Regions from separate parts of the Homo sapiens genome. Here regions 1, 2 and 3 are each linked to region 4. Evidence: promoter capture Hi-C in 16 types of primary human blood cells and fetal thymus (Javierre and others, 2016). All regions are on one chromosome and are shown on one strand. The core of a region is centred on a gene start or on the middle of the fragment in contact, and the rest is flanking DNA. Distances in the headings are between cores, read along the strand shown. Region 1 overlaps SETX (senataxin). Region 2 has its middle 14 kb from the start of SETX. Region 3 overlaps SETX (senataxin). Region 4 holds the start of NUP214 (nucleoporin 214).

What was found. The method cuts DNA at HindIII sites, captures the fragments that hold promoters and counts their contacts. A CHiCAGO score of 5 or more calls a contact.
Region 1: a fragment that was not itself captured here is called in contact with the fragment with the promoter of NUP214 in region 4 in 4 of 17 cell types (M2 macrophages, naive B cells, M0 macrophages and 1 more); the score reaches 9.0 in M2 macrophages.
Region 2: a contact is called between a fragment that was not itself captured here and the fragment with the promoter of NUP214 in region 4, in 1 of 17 cell types (monocytes). The highest score is 5.1, in monocytes.
Region 3: a contact is called between a fragment that was not itself captured here and the fragment with the promoter of NUP214 in region 4, in 9 of 17 cell types (M2 macrophages, M0 macrophages, naive B cells and 6 more). The highest score is 16.7, in M2 macrophages.

The regions. Positions count from the first base shown.
Region 1 is chr9:132,266,766-132,270,998 of GRCh38, reverse strand. SETX (senataxin) reads left to right here. Exons shown (of 26, transcript NM_015046.7): 25 at 1,297-1,384. Among named protein-coding and RNA genes, the nearest start is that of SETX, 86 kb to the left of the region's middle. RefSeq lists a silencer at 1,069-1,243 and enhancers at 344-1,329, 448-1,647, 1,330-2,316. The HindIII fragment of the contact is 9,425 bases long and covers 1-4,233 here.
Region 2 is chr9:132,367,159-132,371,228 of GRCh38, reverse strand. No RefSeq gene overlaps it. Among named protein-coding and RNA genes, the nearest start is that of SETX, 14 kb to the right of the region's middle. The HindIII fragment of the contact is 2,400 bases long and covers 284-2,683 here.
Region 3 is chr9:132,284,019-132,288,539 of GRCh38, reverse strand. It overlaps SETX (senataxin), which reads left to right. Exons shown (of 26, transcript NM_015046.7): 17 at 189-304; 18 at 2,046-2,117. Among named protein-coding and RNA genes, the nearest start is that of SETX, 69 kb to the left of the region's middle. The HindIII fragment of the contact is 5,115 bases long and covers 1-3,970 here.
Region 4 is chr9:131,122,838-131,127,388 of GRCh38, reverse strand. It overlaps NUP214 (nucleoporin 214), which reads right to left and starts at 1,803. Exons shown (of 36, transcript NM_005085.4): 1 at 1,640-1,803. The coding sequence starts at 1,684. AIF1L (allograft inflammatory factor 1 like) reads right to left here. Exons shown (of 6, transcript NM_031426.4): 6 at 4,245-4,551. It also overlaps the pseudogene RNU6-881P. RefSeq lists an enhancer at 1,605-1,904. The HindIII fragment of the contact is 3,004 bases long and covers 1-1,835 here.

The DNA of each region.
Region 1 (4,233 bases), core at 792-3,291, 1.1 Mb before region 4:
ATTTACAGGTTATAAATTAGTTCGTTTTCAAATAAAATAGTAATTAAAGTAATCTTTGCCCCTCCCTGGGATGGGCTGCATATACAGAGCCCAGTTGTATCTCAGGGTCAGTTTATAAATAGACCTTTCTTTCCCAGCTAATTTGAAATTTCACTTTTATCATACATCAATTCTATTTCTGAGCTCTTTTTCTGATCTACTGAAATATTTATCTGGTGTTCATGTATTTCTACACTAGTTCTACAATATCTTAACAGTCTAGATATATTTAAATGTAAGAATAAAGTGATTAGGCTGGTACCACATTTTTAGGATTTTTCAAGGCTTCAAGATTGCACTGTTAAAATTTCCAATTATCTTATCCAGGTAAAAATAGGAAATTGATAGATGCATCACTTTGAAGGAAGCCCCGAGGTTTTGGTTTGTTTCCTGTTTTTAATAGGAATTCTTCTGTGCCCGGTACCCTGTATTGGGACGGAGAGTAAGAAAGCACTGTGACTTCTAGAGGAGTGAAGGAGTCCCGGAAAAGCTGCCTGCAGTCCACCTGTGTCTCACATGGGCATGCTGAGTCATTCTAGAGTTCACCTGTGTCTCACTGGCATGCTGAGTCATTCTAGAGTCCATCTGTGTCTCACATGGGCATGCTGAGTCTAGAGTCCACCTGTGTCTCACACGGGCACGCTGAGTCATTCTAGAGTCTACCTGTGTCTCACATGGGCACGCTGAGTCATTCTAGAGTCCACCTGTGTCTCACATGGGCATACTGAGTCATTGTAGAGTCCACCTGTGTCTCACATGGGCACGCTGAGTCATTCTAGAGTCCACCTGTGTCTCACATGAGGATGCTGAGTCATTCTAGAGTCCACCTGTGTCTCACACGGGCACGCTGAGTCATTCTAGAGTCCACCTGTGTCTCACATGAGGATGCTGAGTCATTCTAGAGTCCACCTGTGTCTCACACGGGCACGCTGAGTCATTCTAGAGTCCACCTGTGTCTCACATGAGGATGCTGAGTCATTCTAGAGTCCACCTGTGTCTCACACGGGCACGCTGAGTCATTCTAGAGTCCACCTGTGTCTCACATGAGGATGCTGAGTCATTCTAGAATCCACCTGTGTCTCACACGGGCACGCTGAGTCATTCTAGAGTCCACCTGTGTCTCGGGCTCACTGAGTCATTCAAGATTCCACCTCTGTCAGACACGGGCACGTTGAGTCATTCTAGAGTCCACCTTTGTCTCACATGGGCATGTTAAGTCATTCTAGACAAAGAAGGAACTCTTTTTTTATTGCCTAGATTCCTGGCAAGTTTGCAGAGATTGAATGTCACCATCACACGAGCCAAGTACAGCCTCTTCATCCTCGGACATTTGAGGACCCTGATGGTAGGTACCAGAGAGCTCAGAAGTTTACCCATTGTTACTGTTGTTGGATTGAGTTTTTGTTCTTATTTTCCATCAAAGTGTAAATGATTTCTGGATTACAAAATAATGGTTGTTATGTTTTCCAGCAACTTCTTCCTAGGAGCTTTTGTGTACACGTGAACCATTCGCCTTTTTTCAGCCCAGAACCCAAGTATCTACACTGGGCTCTCAAGGTGACCATTTTAAAACAAATTATCCACATCATAGGATTATTGTTAAGAAGGTATATTAAACCCACAGATGTAAAGTGCCAAAGCAATTGCTTGGCACTTAGTAAACACTCAGTAAATGTGGCTGTTATTGGCCCAGCTTAATGCCAGAGAGAGTTTGCAGGCGCGTGCTCTGCTCTGCTTTTCTGCTGGCACTGGGAGCTGTGCTGCTCACTCTGTTTCTCCAGCACTTAGCGCCTCCGGCATTCTTCTGCCAGGACAGGCGCCCCTCTGGAAGAGGTGTACGAGTTTCCAACTTCAGTAGACAAATGGTACAGCTTAATTCACTGATATCACAGCTAGATGTAGCACGTATTTGCTGTTTGTCTTATTAGGGGTAATAACTTTGTAGTTTTCCTCATTTCTCTTTTTTATGAAGTCATTGATTTCATCTAAGAAGAGCCAACTTGGTGGCTGTTTCCCCTGGTTTTGGTTCCTGCCACCAGGTGGCGCTCAGATACACCTTCTTTCTTGTTTCACTCCTCTATCACCTCCAGCCTTTGTCGTCTGTGTGCCTGCTCTGAAGGAAGTTTTAAAAGCTGTGTACCGTTTATTTTTATGTACCTCCTATTTTTAAGTTGATAGAAAAAATCTTTGTAAGTTTAAATATTACTGAAGATTATGCTTCTGATGTATTATCAATATTGACATTTTAAAATACAGCAATTAAAATTATTACATCACTCTTAAATATATCCAGTGGAATAGAAAGCAATATTATTTTATTTTTTCCTCTCTTTGAAATTGTACTTCCATTCCTGCTTGTTTAGGCTAAGATTCACTGGGGTAATCTCTTTTTAGAATTAAAAGCCTTTAAGTTAATCTCACTGATCTACACCTCTCTCACAAAAATTTCTGTATAACTTGAAAGTTTAAAAAGTTGTTTTCCCCTGGCGGGAGTGCAGTGGCACAATCACAGCTCACTGCAGCCTCCGCCTCCTGGATTTAAGCCGTTCTCCCACCTCAGCCTCCTGAGTAGCTGAGACTATAGGCGCATGTACCTAATTTTTGTACTTTTAGTAGAGAAAGGGTCTTACCATGTTGTCCAGGCTGGTCTCAAACTCCTGGGCTAAAGTCATCCCACCTCGGCCTAAAAAGTTGATTTTTATCACTATTTGGGGAACCCATGTGAAGGGTGCATGCAACCTCTCAGTACTTTCCTTGCAACTTCCTGTAAATCTATAGTTATCTCAAAATGTAGGTTTGGATTTTTAAAAATTGCTTTTCCTGTGACCATAAGCATCTGAGTGTTAAAACGTGATCTCTTATCAATTGAATAGCCTGTTAACACTTATTTGTACAGTTGAGCAAAACAAGACAAATATATTTAATATCACAGATTTTGATCATGTTTAAACCTGACAAGTAAATGAAATGTTGCTAGAGATACATCTTTTAGTGATGCCTTGATTAAAGGAGGCTTTGTGGGCACTACTGTTTTTCATCCTCCCTTAAGTTGGCACCTCATGGTGTTGATGTGTCTTGGCAGTGCACTCTGGATGGATGAGGCGCATCATGATTGTGAAGGGTGGGGTGCAGGAGGCAGGGCAGCCCAAGGAGGACATGGGAAGTAGGGTTTGCAAGGTTATTCTGTAACCCTTTTTCACATTCCGTTTAGACAGTGTTTGGGAGCCCCTGGGTCACACTTGCACAACTGTGCAGACCACTGACCTCCAGCTAATGGCACCGACATTGTCTTCACTCTAGGAAGGCAGTGCTACAAAAAGAGACAGACGAGAATCTGAAACTTCCCGACATGTCAGCTGGGCTTCCTAACTTTTTTTGTCCTTGGGCTTTTTCTTTGTTGTTTTGGGGATTCATTTGCTTTTGTTTCTAAGTTTTTAGCCTAGTTCCCCTTATGGGAATGGGATCAATCATTAAAGCGTTTGATTTCCTCTGAGAAACCAAGGCTAATAGTGCCTGCTCAGAACTGTTTCTGTGATCTTAGGAATGGATTAAACACCAAGTTTAGGTGTAGTGAACTTAGCAAAAATTGCAAGGCCATCTGCTTCACATATGTGTTTGAGCCACAGGCTAAGGATCTCTAGAGATCTGAGTGAGAAAGAGAACTGAGCCCCCAGAGCCTGGCGCTCCCTCCACAGACCTGTCTTCAGTATGCCAGCCACCGGGCCAAGCATTTTATTCTGGTCACATGACTTTCTCCAAACCTTGAAAAACTACTGTGAAGTCAGCTTATTACCATAGTTCATCAAATTCAAGAAACCATTCATTATAATATACACCACTATTTTATGTACCATTATTAGACTATGACACAGTGCCTTATTTTCACTTAGAACTTTCATATTTATTGAAAGGACTCTTAAGACTTTAGACAGATTTTTACCATATTCTTATCCATACATAGAAAATACAAGTAAAATAATAGGTTAAGATATTCCTAAAAATATTTCACTTTCAGAATTTAGCACGAATGAATCACTTCCCAATCCATAGTCATCAGTGTTGTCATTCATCCCAAGTGCAATAATAAGGTTGGCAATTTAGCATTTGCTAAGAGTTACACCATTGTCTCCAGGATTTCTTAGAACCCTTTATCTCCAGTGTATAAGGTTTTTTTGGGGGTTTTTTTTTGAGACA
Region 2 (4,070 bases), core at 234-2,733, 1.2 Mb before region 4:
ATTGCAAACTAGGCTGGGCTCACACCTGTAATCCCAGCACTTTGGGAGGCCAAGGCAGATGGATCACGAGGTCAGGAGATCGAGACCATCCTGGCAAACACGGTGAAACCCCATCTCTACTAAAAATACAAAAAAATTAGCCGGGCATGGTGGCGGGCGCCTGTAGTCCCAGCTACTCGGGAGGCTGAGGCAGATTGCGCCACTGCACTCTAGCCCGAGCGACAGAGCGAGACTCCATCTCAAAAAAAAAAAAAAAAGGCAAACTAACACTGAAATGCAAGCTTACAGCAAGATTTATTGCAACACAGTAAAACACTCTGAGGGAGAGCAGGCTCATTTCTGGGAAGTAAAATCAGCCCCTCTTTACAAAAATCAAGGTGCTTTTATGGGGTTTGTTGGAGGAGTTGAGGCTTGGGCTGTGTTTGAGTGACAGGATGATATCATTTGATTGGCAGTTTATGGTTATATCCCTGAAGTTAAACTGCGCATGTTTTTACCCATAATTCATTAAGAAAAGCCCACTCAGAGAGGCAAAACCACATGTAAATTTTATTATAACGACTATAATGAGGATGGGTTTTCCCTGGGTTATGGCCTACATGGACTGGGCACGTGTGGCTTTAGGCCATCGTTATCTGTGCCCCAGTTTTTCTTTCTCCAGGATGTGCTGGCCCCAGATTGTACCATAAATTCCATCCATTAGGGTGGAGTTAGGACGGTCTCAGGCTGAACTTAGGTGGGCTAGGGCTGGTCTTAGTGACAGCCCTCCTGCTTTCTTCTCTCTCCCTCTCCCAGCTGCTAATGTCCATCTAACTACCTAACAGTATTGTCGTTCTGTTTGTTCAAGTCAGAAACCTAGAAGTCATCCTGTTTCCATCCTTTCCTCCAGGACCTCCACATCCAACCTAAGAGCAAACCCCACCCCACCACATTTGTCTCCAAGCCCACCTGGACTCTAGTCTAGCCACCTCCACTGCCACCTGCCGTGATCTCAGGCTTCATTCTCTGAGTTACACTGATCTCCTTGCTTCCCCTACCAGCCCTTCTCCAATCTGTAGTCCCCACATCTGCACAACTGATACTGCACCACCCTGTTGAGAACCTTGAAATGGGGCCAGGGGTGGTGGCTCATGCCTGTAATCCCAGCAATTTGGGAGGCTGAGGCAGGGGGATCACCTGAGGTCAGGAGTTCGAGACCAGCCTGGCCAACATGGTGAAACCCTGTCTCTACTAAAAATACAAAAGTTAGCCAGGTGTGGTGGTGGGAACCTGCAATCCCAGCTACTTGGGAGGCTGAGGCAGGAGAATTGCTTGAACCCAGGAGGCAGAGGTTGCAATGAACCAAAATCATGCCATTACACTCCAGCCTGGGTGATAGAGCGAGACTCTGTCAAAAAAGAAAGAGAAGACAGAGAGAGAGAGAGAAAGTAAGAGAGAGAGAGAAAGAAAGAAAGAAACCTTGAAATGGCTTCCCACATGCTTTTGGATAATATTCAAACTCTATGTCATCGTGTCTACAGGGGTTTCGCACAATGTGCTGTTGCTGATCTCTTCAGCCCTGTCTCAGGCTCTTATTCCTCTCACCCACCACACTCCAGGAACCTGCTGTTGAATGAATGAATGAATAGCAGGAAACACCCCATGGCCTTTGCAGGTACCGTTTCTTCGCTAGAACAATGCAACAAAACTTTGCAAGGCTGACTCCTCATTTAATTTTCTACTCAATGGAAAAGAGTGGAAGGTTCATTTTTGCAAGACTGACTCCTCATTTAGGTTTCCACTCAAATGAGGTTTCCTCAGAGAGAAGACATTATCTGACCTCCCCCCGGTGCCAAGTAGACCCCCATGAATTTACCTCATTCTGGTGTTATGTGTATAGCATTTATCTCTATCCTGCTTTTTGAATTACTTTTTTACTGCCCAGCTCCTGCCTCAGAATATAAGCTCCAAGGAAGCAGAAATGCATTTATTCCCACATCCCCCAGAACCTTGAATGGTGTCTGGGTTGACTGAATGAATGGAAGGAAGGGAATAGTAGGGGAAGGAGGAAAAGAGGAAGGAAAGAAGCCAGGCAGGAAGACAATAGACAATCACAATCATGTTGAATGCTACAAAGAATTATAGGCAGGGCTATCCTTGCGGGGAAGGGGAAGGGGAAGGGGTGGCTGGCAATTTGGAGGAGGGGGAGCCAGGATTCCTGTCTATATAAGCAACTTGAGACACCCCAAAGTCATTTTCTAGACACCATGCTGGTGGTCCAATCTCAGGCAATTCTGCAAAAGAAACAGCTCACTAGTCAGCTGAATTGGCCCACCACCCTACCTTCCTAGAACCAGAGCCAGACACATAGCTCTGGAAGAAGCCCCTCAGTACAAGTTTCCCCAAGCTCCTGGGAGCATCTGGTCCACCCCACGTGCAGGGGTTAGGGGTAGAGAGTTGGAGGGTGCCCCCAACAGGGAGAATTGGAGCTGAGGACCTCAAAGTCCTGCTCTAGGCTCTGCCCAGGGAAGGTACTGGGCCAGGCCAATTCTCCCTGACAGTAACACAGACAGGCCTGCATAGCACCCCAGTTACACAGACACATTTCCACAGCACTGCCTTAACATTGAGCTAATAATTAGACCCAGAGAAATCGATGCCCAGATCTCAAAGCCAGAAATGAAACATACGTTCAGGAGAAGCTTTGCACAGGCTTCTCCCAAACTTGGAGCAAGTCAAGATAATGGAGACAGCCTTACATTCCTTGTGCCAGGACCCGTCTCAGGTCAATGAAATCCGGGACGCGTCAAGGTAACAAAGGCAGCTGTGCGAACAGATTTACTGGATAGTCTAAGGCAGCTCTCTGGACCAAACCGTTAAAGAGAGAAGATAGAAATAATCACCTCAGTACCACAGTCCTCATTAATTAGAATTTGGGAGACAGGCCTTGATGATACTGGGGTCCTCATAGATTCATTAAACTTAGAAGGCATTTTTGGCTCCTAACCTTCTAGTTAGAACAAAATTAGTCACCTATAGACTTAGCCGAATGCGATACCACACATAGCCATATAACCCCCACACACGTAAGCACTGAGAAAATTGTAATGCTTCGAGTTGGTCTGGTGAAACTATCTCCGACCTTCTCCCTGTATCTGGTTACAGCAATAAACTTCCTTTCTTAGTTTATCTGCTTCTCGTTACTGAGCCACTAGAACACGCAGCCAGACCCGGCCTGGGCTTGGTCTGGGAACAGTACTGCCAGCCCCAACTTGTCCCACGCAGTAGAGAGGGACTTTGAAAACGTTGAGAAGTCACTCCAAACAGCAAGGGTCCCTGAGGGCTTGCCCAGGTCTGAAGGCGGGACTGAGAATACAGGCCTCCTTGGAAGGGCTTAACCCAGTTGGGAAGGAGAAGGCTCTCGGAACACCCTGTACTCACCCTTGTGTAACTTTCAGCACAGTGGAAATTGCTAACCTAATGCCTGTGCCTCCCTTTGAATGTGAATGCCACTGACTGGTCATAACCACCCTCCAGTGAGGATTTACTCGATGTCTGTTGAATATATGGCAAGATGCAGGGTGCTTTTTACCTTAAACTTTTATGTACTCAAAACTTTTTTCAACATCACTTTTTCCAAGGCCTTTGTAGCTATTTTTTGTTTGTTTGTTTGTTTGAGAGGGAGTCTTGCTCTGTCGCCCAGGCTGGAGTGCAGTGGTGCAATCTCAGCTCACTGCAACCTCCGCCTCTCAGGTTCAAGCGATTCTCCTGCCTCAACCTCCCAAGCAACTGGGATTACAGGTGCCTACCATGATGCCCGGCTAATTTTTGCATTTTTAGTAGTGACAGGTCTTCACCATGTTGGCCAGGCTGGTCTAGAACTCCTGACCTCAAGTGATCTTCCCACCTTGGCCTCCCAAAGTGCTGGGATTACAGGCGTAAGCCACCGCGCCCAGCCCACTGTAGCTGTTTTTAAGAGAAAAAACATATATTAAAATCATTCTGGGTTTTAAAAAAATTGCATAGGGATTTGTTTTTAGCAGTTTAGCAGTGTAGGTATCCAGACTGCCCCGACCTCCCTCTGAACACCA
Region 3 (4,521 bases), core at 164-2,663, 1.2 Mb before region 4:
AATGTGGTATATACTAGTGTTTTCTCTGTTTTGTTTGGTGGAAAATGACTTGGGCACTAAAGGTAATTTGAAGCCTCCAGAATTAGTCTGGCTTTGGGAACTAATTTTCCTTCTCATTGTGTTGTATATGTGTGTGAGTTTGTTAGAATTAGAATAGCATATAATTTTTTATTTGTTATTTTTATTAGAAAAAGAGTTACCTTCTCATGTTCAGGCGATGCATAAAAGAAAGGAATTTCTAGATTATCAGCTGGATGAGCTTTCCCGGCAGCGAGCTCTATGCCGAGGTGGACGGGAAATACAGGTATCTTTGCATTTCTTGAATAATAACTCAGGTATACGAACTAGTTAACAAGTTTTTTTTGAGACAGAGTCTTGCTCTGTCTTCCAGGCTGGAGTGCAGTAGCACAATCCTGACTCACTGCAGCCTCACCTTCCTGGGTTCAGGTGATCCTCCTGCCTCAGCCTCCCGAGTAGGTGGGATTACAAGGTTGTGCCGGCACACCTGGCTAATTTTCTGTATTTTTAATGGAGATGGGGTTTCACCATGTTGGCCAGGCTAGTCTCGAACTCCCGGCCTCAAGTTGATCTGCCCACCTCAGCATCCCAAAGTGCTGGGATTACAGGCATGAGCCATTGCGACCAGCCTAATTAATGAGTATTTAATGCCCTTTATTTATTGGGGAATGGCATGATTCATGTATAAAAATGTGTACTAAGACACTAAAAATGTGTCTCAGATTAACACATTTCTTTCTGCTTTTTTTTTTTTTGTCCTTTTGGTTTTAATTTTTTTTTTCATTTTTTCTTTTATTAAAATTACTTTTGTTAAAAATCTTTTTAAAAACTTTTTTGTAAAGGGCAAGATATTCTAGTAAAGATTTTAGGCTTTGCAAGCCATATGGTTGGTTTCTGTTGCAGCTATTCAACTCTGCTTTTGGTAGCACAAAGGCAGCCATAGATAATACATAAACAAATGGATGTGGCTGTGTTCCAGTAGAACTTTATTTACGAAAATAGATGGGGTGTTGCGTTTTTGTTTGTTTTTGAGATAGGGTCTCACTTTGTGGCCCAGGCTGGAGTGCAGTGGTGCAGTTGTGGTTCAATTTAGCCTCAAGCTCTTGGACTCAAGTGAGCTGTCTTTCTGCCTCAGCCTCTTGAGTAGCTGGGACTACAGCCGTGTGCCATCATGCCTGGCTAATTTTTTTGTTTGTTTTCTGTAGAAACTGGGTCTTGCCATGTTGCCCAGGGTGGTCTGAACTTCTTGCCTCAAGCAGTCCTCTCACCTTAGCCTCCCAAAGTGCCAGGATTACAGGCATGAGTCCCTGCACATGGCCTTGCATTTGGCTTATAGGCTGTACTGCCTTATATTAAAGCTATACTGAGTTTATTAGTTGCCTTTCAGTTGCATGTTGAGCCCAGTTCAAATTAGGTTAGACAGAAAGGGAATTAGCTTCAGTATGGGTGGATCCAGAGGGTCACATGATATCATTTCTCCACTCCATAATTTGTTTTTCTGTGTGTCAGCCATTTCTTCTGAGAAAGGTGAGTGTCAGCATCTCAGGGCTTCCACCATCTCAGCTTTGAAACCCCAGAGGGAGAGAAAGTCTTTCTCTTAGCATCCATATATCCAAAGAAGCAGTTAGTTTAGTCCCTGGGTGAGCAAGCAGGTCTAATCCCTATTTTTAAGAAGATGGGTGCATGATTGGCCAGGCCTGTGTTAGATGCCCATCACTGTGGCCAGAGGAATGGTTGGGGTGTGATTTACAGCCTCATTTGAATCACCTGGAAGTTAAGGGTGGCGTGATGCTCCCAGTGCTGGAATGCTAAGCAGACAGCTCACGTGCAGCGCACAGAACACAGCTGAGTCTTACGCAGCAGCATACAGAGTGTGTCAGGACTCCAGTGGTAAAGAGGAAATAAGCTGGGTAAATACATTTTTCATTGGTGAAATACAGGCTCTTTTAAAATTAGAGGTAGTCCATTGGAAGGCATTTAAAAATGCTTAGTTTAGTTTTAATTGTGACATTTGAATTTTTTTCCAGAGGCAAGAATTAGATGAAAACATTTCCAAAGTTTCTAAGGAAAGGCAGGAACTTGCTTCTAAAATTAAAGAGGTAAGTAGTTCACCTGTAGCATTTTCTTGATTTTTTTTTTTTTCTTTTTAAAATTTAAGTATGACTGTTCAGACAAGCTATGGGCTTTTATTTATTTATTTTGGAGACAGAGTCTCACTCTGTCTCTCAGGCTGGGGTGCAGTGGCATGATCTCAGCTCACTGCAACCTCAGTCTCCCATGTGGCTGGGATTACAGGCGTGCACCACCATGCCTGGCTAATTTTTTTTTTTTTTTTTTTTTGAGGTGAAGTCTTGCTCTGTCACCAGACTGGAGTATAGTGGCGTGATCTTGGCTCACTGCAACCTCTGCCTCCCGGGTTCAAGCGATTCTCCTGCCTCAGCCTCCCGAGTAGCTAGGATTACAGGCGTGTGCCACCACGCCCAGCTAATTTTTGCATTGTTAGTAGAGACGGGGTTTCACCGTGTTGGCCAGGATGGTCTGGATCTCTTGACGTCATGATCCTCCTGCCTCAGCCTCCCTCAAAGTGCTGGGATTACAGGCGTGAGGCACCACACCTGGCCTCTTTTGTGTTTTTTTTTTTTTGAGACAGAGTCTCACTCTGTTGCCAGGCTGGAGTGCAGTGGCACAATCTCAGCTCACTGCAACCTCTGCCTCCCAGGTTCAAGTGATTCTCCTGCCTCAGCCTCCCGAGTAGCTGGGACTACAGGTGTGCGCCACCACGCCCGACTAAATTTTGTATTTTTAGTAGAGATGGGGTTTCACCATGTTGGCCAGGATGGTCTCCATCTCATGACGTTGTGATCCGCCCACCTCGGCCTCCCTAAGTGCTGGGATTACAGGCGTGAGCCACCATGCCTGGCCCTTTTTTTGTATTTTTAATAGAGATGGGGTTTCACCATGTTGGCCATGCTGGTCTGGAACGTCCAACCTCAAGTCATCCCCCGTCTCGGCCTCCCAAAGTGTTGGCATTACAGGCGTGAGCCACCATGCCTGGCCAGCTATGGGCTTTTCTCAGTTACATTTTAAATTGTTATGAAAAATTACAAACATCTGTGGAAGTGGAGAAAATGGTGTAACAACATTTGCATTTTTTTCTTTAACCTAAGAATGAATTCTTACCACCATCTAAGATTTCTAAGAGGTGGTTATAAGTTATCTTTTTTGTTTTAAGTCTGGTAAATATTTAAATTCTTTCTTATAAGGTGCTCTATTTCTGCTTCCCATAAACTGCAAAAAACAATTATGATAATTATCATCAGATAAACAGTTAATGAAAATAGCTTTGGCCAGGCGCGGTGGCTCACGCCTGTACTCCCAGCACTTTGGGAGGCCGAGGCGGGCGGATCACGAGGTCAGGAGATTGAGACCATCCTGGCTAACACAGTGAAACCCCGTCTCTAATAAAATACAAAAAATTAGCTGGGCGTGGTGGTGGGCACCTGTAATCCCACCTACTCGGGAGCCTGAGGCAGGAGAATGGCGTGAACCTGGGAGGCAGAGCTTGCAGTGAGTGGAGATCGCGCCACTGCACTCCAGCCTGGGTGACAGAGCGAGACTCCGTCTCAAAAAAAAAAAACAACAAAAAAAATAGCTTTGTGGGTGTTTTCACTATTAAAAAAAAAAAGTCACCTGTATGAGCTTTAGGATGAGGGTGGCAACTGTGAGCCCTCCAGAGCTCCAACCTGGATAGAAGTAGAGTGATGGTGGGCAGAATTCGGCAAAAGAAAGTACAGCACTTTGATATTTGGTTTTTGTTTTTTGCAATTCTTGGGTTAGAGCATAAACTCCCTGTACTTGTGTTGGATCATAAGACTCCTGTAACATTTTGTAGCTTTTCTCCAGTATTTTTTGGATGTGAAAATATCCTGTAAGATTTAGACTCATTGAAGCTTGGCCGAGCCAGGTGTATACCCTGATTGTCAGAATGCAGCCCTAATCAAACCACACTGGGGTCAGGGAAAGAGGGTAATAGTAACTGATGACGTTAGTAGTATTTTTGCTGAAGTTTCCTCCTGAATGGATTATGATCTTTCTCTATGTGACTAAAATATAGTTGAATTTAATGCATATTTTCATTAGCAGTTTATTTAAACTAAAAGTTATGTGAAAGCTTTTGATTAAACAGATTTTAATCAGATTTTAAACAGAACCCCAGATTAATCTTTCCTGAGTCAAGGATGAAGTCCATCTTCACAGATGTTTTTTGCTGCTCATCACATGTGTTCTGTGGGCCATGAAACTATGCTCAGCAGTTGTACTCACTAGGTGGCTGAGGACAGTGTCTGACAGTGCTTTACTGTGTGAGCCGTGGAGGACCACAGTGCCACCCTCTTCCTAAAGCTCACACGAATGCCTTGAATTCCATGGTTGAATATATCGTATGTGCTGAGATGAATCACCACTACTTCTTAGTAGCAAAAAGCAGCAAACTGAATCTCTGCT
Region 4 (4,551 bases), core at 554-3,053:
TTTTTTGAGATGGAGTCTCGCTCTGTCGTCCAGGCTGGAGTGCAGTGCAGCGATCTTGGCTCACTGCAACCTCTGCCTCCCAGGTTCAAGCGATTCTCCTGCTTCAGACTCCCAAGTAGCTGGGATTACAGGCACCCGCCACCATGGCCATCTAATTTTTGTATTTTTAGTAGACACAGGGTTTCATTATGTTGGCCAGGCTAGTCTCGAACTCCGGACCTCAAGTGATCCATCCACCTCAGCCTCCCAAAGTGCAAGCTCACAGGCATGAGCCACCACACTCGGCCCTCATTTTTTTCTGATATGGAACACTTCATGAATTTGTCTGTCATCCATGTAAAGGGGCCATAATAGTCTTCTCTGCATGATCCCAATTTTATATGTGCTGCCAAAGGGAGTGCGAGATTACCATCTTCTAAGTCTGTGGTTCTATTAATAAAACCTTTTTTTCTTCTACCCCAGCATATCTGAGGAATATGACACAACCCCATTAGGTGGCTCACCACAGGTGGTGATTCTCAAAAAATAATCACTATTCTAGGACAGCACGGTAGCTCACGCCTATAATCCCAGCACTTTGGGAGCCAGAGGAGGGCGGATCACGTTAGGTCAGGAGTTCGAGACCAGCCTGGCCAACATCGTGAAACCCAGTCTCTACCAAATGATATAAAAAATTAGTGGGGCGTGGTGGCAGGCGCCTGTAATACCAGCTACTAGGGAGGTTGAAGCAGGAGAATCGCTTGAGCCGGGGAGGTGGAGGTTGCAGGGAGCCGAGATCATGCCACTGCACTCCAGCTTGGGTGACAGAGCAAGACTCTGTCTCAAAAAAAAAAAAAAATCACTATTCTAAACATGGTATTACTATGCCCTAAATGCATTTTAGTGATTTATTGTTCACACAGATGCCTAAAATCTTCCTGCAACTTACTTCTTTTCACTATTTAAAACAGATGTAGCCCGTCTGTTGTACCCTCATTCTGTCAGAACCCATATAAGAACTATTAAACACACCATCCTGAAGTTATCCCTGGGGGACTCCCACGTTGCTATCACTGGGACCACTTGGCCCTCCCTTTAGGTTCCTGACTTTAGGCTGATATACCGAGGTCAAAATAGTCTTCCTAGTCCAATCAACTAAAGGTTCTGCAGGATGGATGACCTTCCCTGACTCTACGTTAGGCAAGCCCGTATCACCTTACAGAAGTACTGGGAGAGCAAAGGTCTTAAATGATGCTGGCTTTCAGCCCCGCGTCAAATGTGACTTTAGGGAAATTACTTTCCGAGCCTCAACTTACTCCTCTACGTTAACGACTACTTCGTAGGGCTGCCGCGATGACTACCACAGTGCCTGGCACACAGTCAACACTCAATAAACAGCAGTTATTGCCACTATTGTGACCGCCCCAGGAAGTAGCTAGGGTAACTCAACAGCCGTGCACGAGACCAGGATGGGACTGGGAAACTGCATTCGGTGGGGCTATCACGCCAGCGGCGCGGCAGACGCGCTGGTGAGAGCTGTGAACGCGGTAAACTGTTCAAGCAGGAGGCGGGACAGCCAGCACCGCGCTTCGCCTTTCAGCTGGGCTCCAAGGCAACGCCAGGACTAAAGAAGGGAGGGAGGCCCCGGTTAGTCTCTGACCTTCATCTCCCGCTCGGGAATCATGGCATCCATCTCGTCTCCCATCGCGCCGCCCTCAGTGTGTCGAAGCAGCCAACGCTGCCTCCCACGGCCTTGCCCACGGAACCCAGGCCGCTCGACAGCAAACTTCCTCCCCTCAGCGCCAGCGGCGCGCAGTTGACCTCGCATTTCCGGCGCGCTTTGGTGACGTCAAGCTTGGTCAGAGGAAGCCGCGGAACCTAGCGAAGCCGCGCGTTCTTCCGGCCGCCGCTCCCCATTGGCCAGCTCGGGCTGAGTAGTGGCGTGGCCGTGAGGTCCCTGCGCCTGCGCCCTGGATGGTCCTGGTGCCGCTCCCGCCTTCGCAGCCAGCGCGGGCTTACCTAGTGTTAAGTCTCTCTTCTTGGGTGGCCCACGCCTAAGCGACCTATGCTTCTTGTTCTTCTGAAATCTTACAGTTCCCCTTAGATGTAGGTTGGCTATTGGTAGCTTCCGATTCAGATAAGTTTGGAACTTGACAGATGTTTTCGGGGGGCTGCTTTAGAGAGAGGCTTTGGACTATGCAAGGGGAGGAAGGGAGGTTCAGAAAAACGGGGTCGGGGGGTCGGCAGGGACGACTCTTAAAGTGTGGAAGGTGGAAGGCTGGGAGGGGAGATTAAAGGGCACCGAAGACCAGCTTTGTTTGCTCCTATCAAGGTGATCCTTTCCAGAGCAAGAGCCATATCCATGTCTAGTCGCACGAGTTTGTGCCAAGTCCTTTGCAAAAACCTTCAGATGTGGGATCTCATGTAATCTTGAAGACATCTTAGTCGTCCTAGGGGTTATTTATTTAATTGATGAGACGCGGGTGGCTCATGCCTATAATCCCAGCACTTGGGAGGCGGAGACAGGAGGATTGCTTGAGACCAGGAGTTTGAGACCAGCCTCGGCAACATGGCGAGACCCCGTCTCTATAAAAAACAAAACAAAACCACAAAAATTAGCCAGCAGTGATGGCATGCGTATGTAGTCTCAGCTACTCGGGAGGCTGAGGTGGGAGAATTGCCTGAGCCCAGGAGGTTGAGGCTACAGGGAGCTGTGATTGCACCATTGCACTCCAGCCTGGGTGACAGAGCCAGGCCCTGTCTCAAAAAGTAAATAAAAGGCCGGGCGCGGTGGCTCACGCCTGTAATCCCAGCACTTTGCGAGGCCGAGGCGGGCGGATCACGAGGTCAGGAGATGGAGACCATCCTGGCTAACACGGTGAAACCCCGACTCTACTAAAAATACAAAAAATTAGCCGGGCGCGGTGGCGGGCACCTGTAGTCCCAGCTACTCGGGAGGCTGAGGCAGGAGAATGGCGTGAACCCGGGAGGCGGAGGTTGCAGTGAGCAGAGACAGCGCCACTGCAGTCTGGCCTGGGCGAAAGAGCGAGACTCCGTCTCAAAAAAAAAAAAAAAAAAAAAGTAAATAAAAATAGGCTGGGAGCAGTGGCTCACGCCTGTAACCACAGTACTTTGGGAGGCCGAGGTGGGTGGAACACCTGAGGTCAGGAGCTCGAGACCAGCCTGGCCAACATGGTGAAACCCCGTCTCTGCTAAAAATACAACAATTAGCCGGGTGTGGTGGCGGACGCCTGTGTTCCCAGCTATACAGGAGGCTGAGGCAGGAGAATCGCATGAACACAAAAGGTGGAGGTTGCAGTGAGCTAAGATTGTGCCACTGCACTCCAGCCTGGGTGACAGAGTGAGACTCTGTCTCAGAAAAAAAAAAAAAAAAAAAAAAAAATATATATATATATATATATATACACACACACACACACATATATATATACACACACACACATATATATATATATACACACACACACATACACATACATAATAATAATTGATGAGGTAAGGGAGGCACAGAGAAGTTGAGAAAATTCTCCAATAGCCCTCAGTCAGAAAGTGGTGGTGACAGGATTAGAATTGAGATCGTCTGGATAAGGCTGACTGATGGTATTAAAGTCCTTCATAGAATACATTTCTGTAGTGAATTATAAATGCTCTAGGACAGAGGTTCTTTTTTTTTTTTGAGACGGAGTCTCACTCTGTCACTCATGCTGGAGTGCAGTGGCGCGATCTCGGCTCACTGCAAGCTCTGCCTCCCGGGTTCACAGCATTCTCCTGCCTCAGCTTCCCAAGTAGCTGGGACTACAGGCGGCCGCCACCACGCCCGGCTAATTTTTTGTATTTTTAGTAGAGACGGGGTTTCACCGTGTTAGCCAGGATGGTCTCCATCTCCTGACCTCGTGATCCGCCCACCTCAGCCTCCCAAAGTGCTGGGATTACAGGCGTGAGCCACCGCGCCCGGCCGACAGAGGTTCTTAACTTGGACCTCATGGGTTGGCTCCAGGGGGGTCGGATTGTGCCATTTACTGTTTGGCTTGCAGCACATTGCTTATTCAAGCCTACTTTTCAGTTGTGAAACAAGGATGACATAATAGAACCTGTCTCTTGCAGGGAGGTGGTTAGGATAAGTGAATTTCAGCTGTCTCAGACAAAAGGCACAGGACATGCTCATTTAATCTCTTACTATATTAGCTAGTTCGCAATTTGCTGAGCCCAGAACCAGCCCCAAAATACACCAATCAAGACGTTGGTAAGTTTGTCTGGTTTATTTGCAGGCTGTAGAGATGATATCCCAGTCCACGCACACTCCCATGCACACGCACACACATACTTCATCCACCTGAATTTGCCCGACAAACCCTCCTCTGAGTCATAGGGACAAAGCCATACTTGGCAGTCCTCACGTTACTGGTTACATTAGATTTGGTCTTTCAGAAAGAAGATGGTTGAAGTCCCAAGAAGCTGAGCCCTTAGCCAGAGAAGTAAGAGTCCTAGAACCAAGAGCCACAACCTGAAATAGATGCAGACTGCCCCCGCCCTCCTTCCAGGGACAACTCT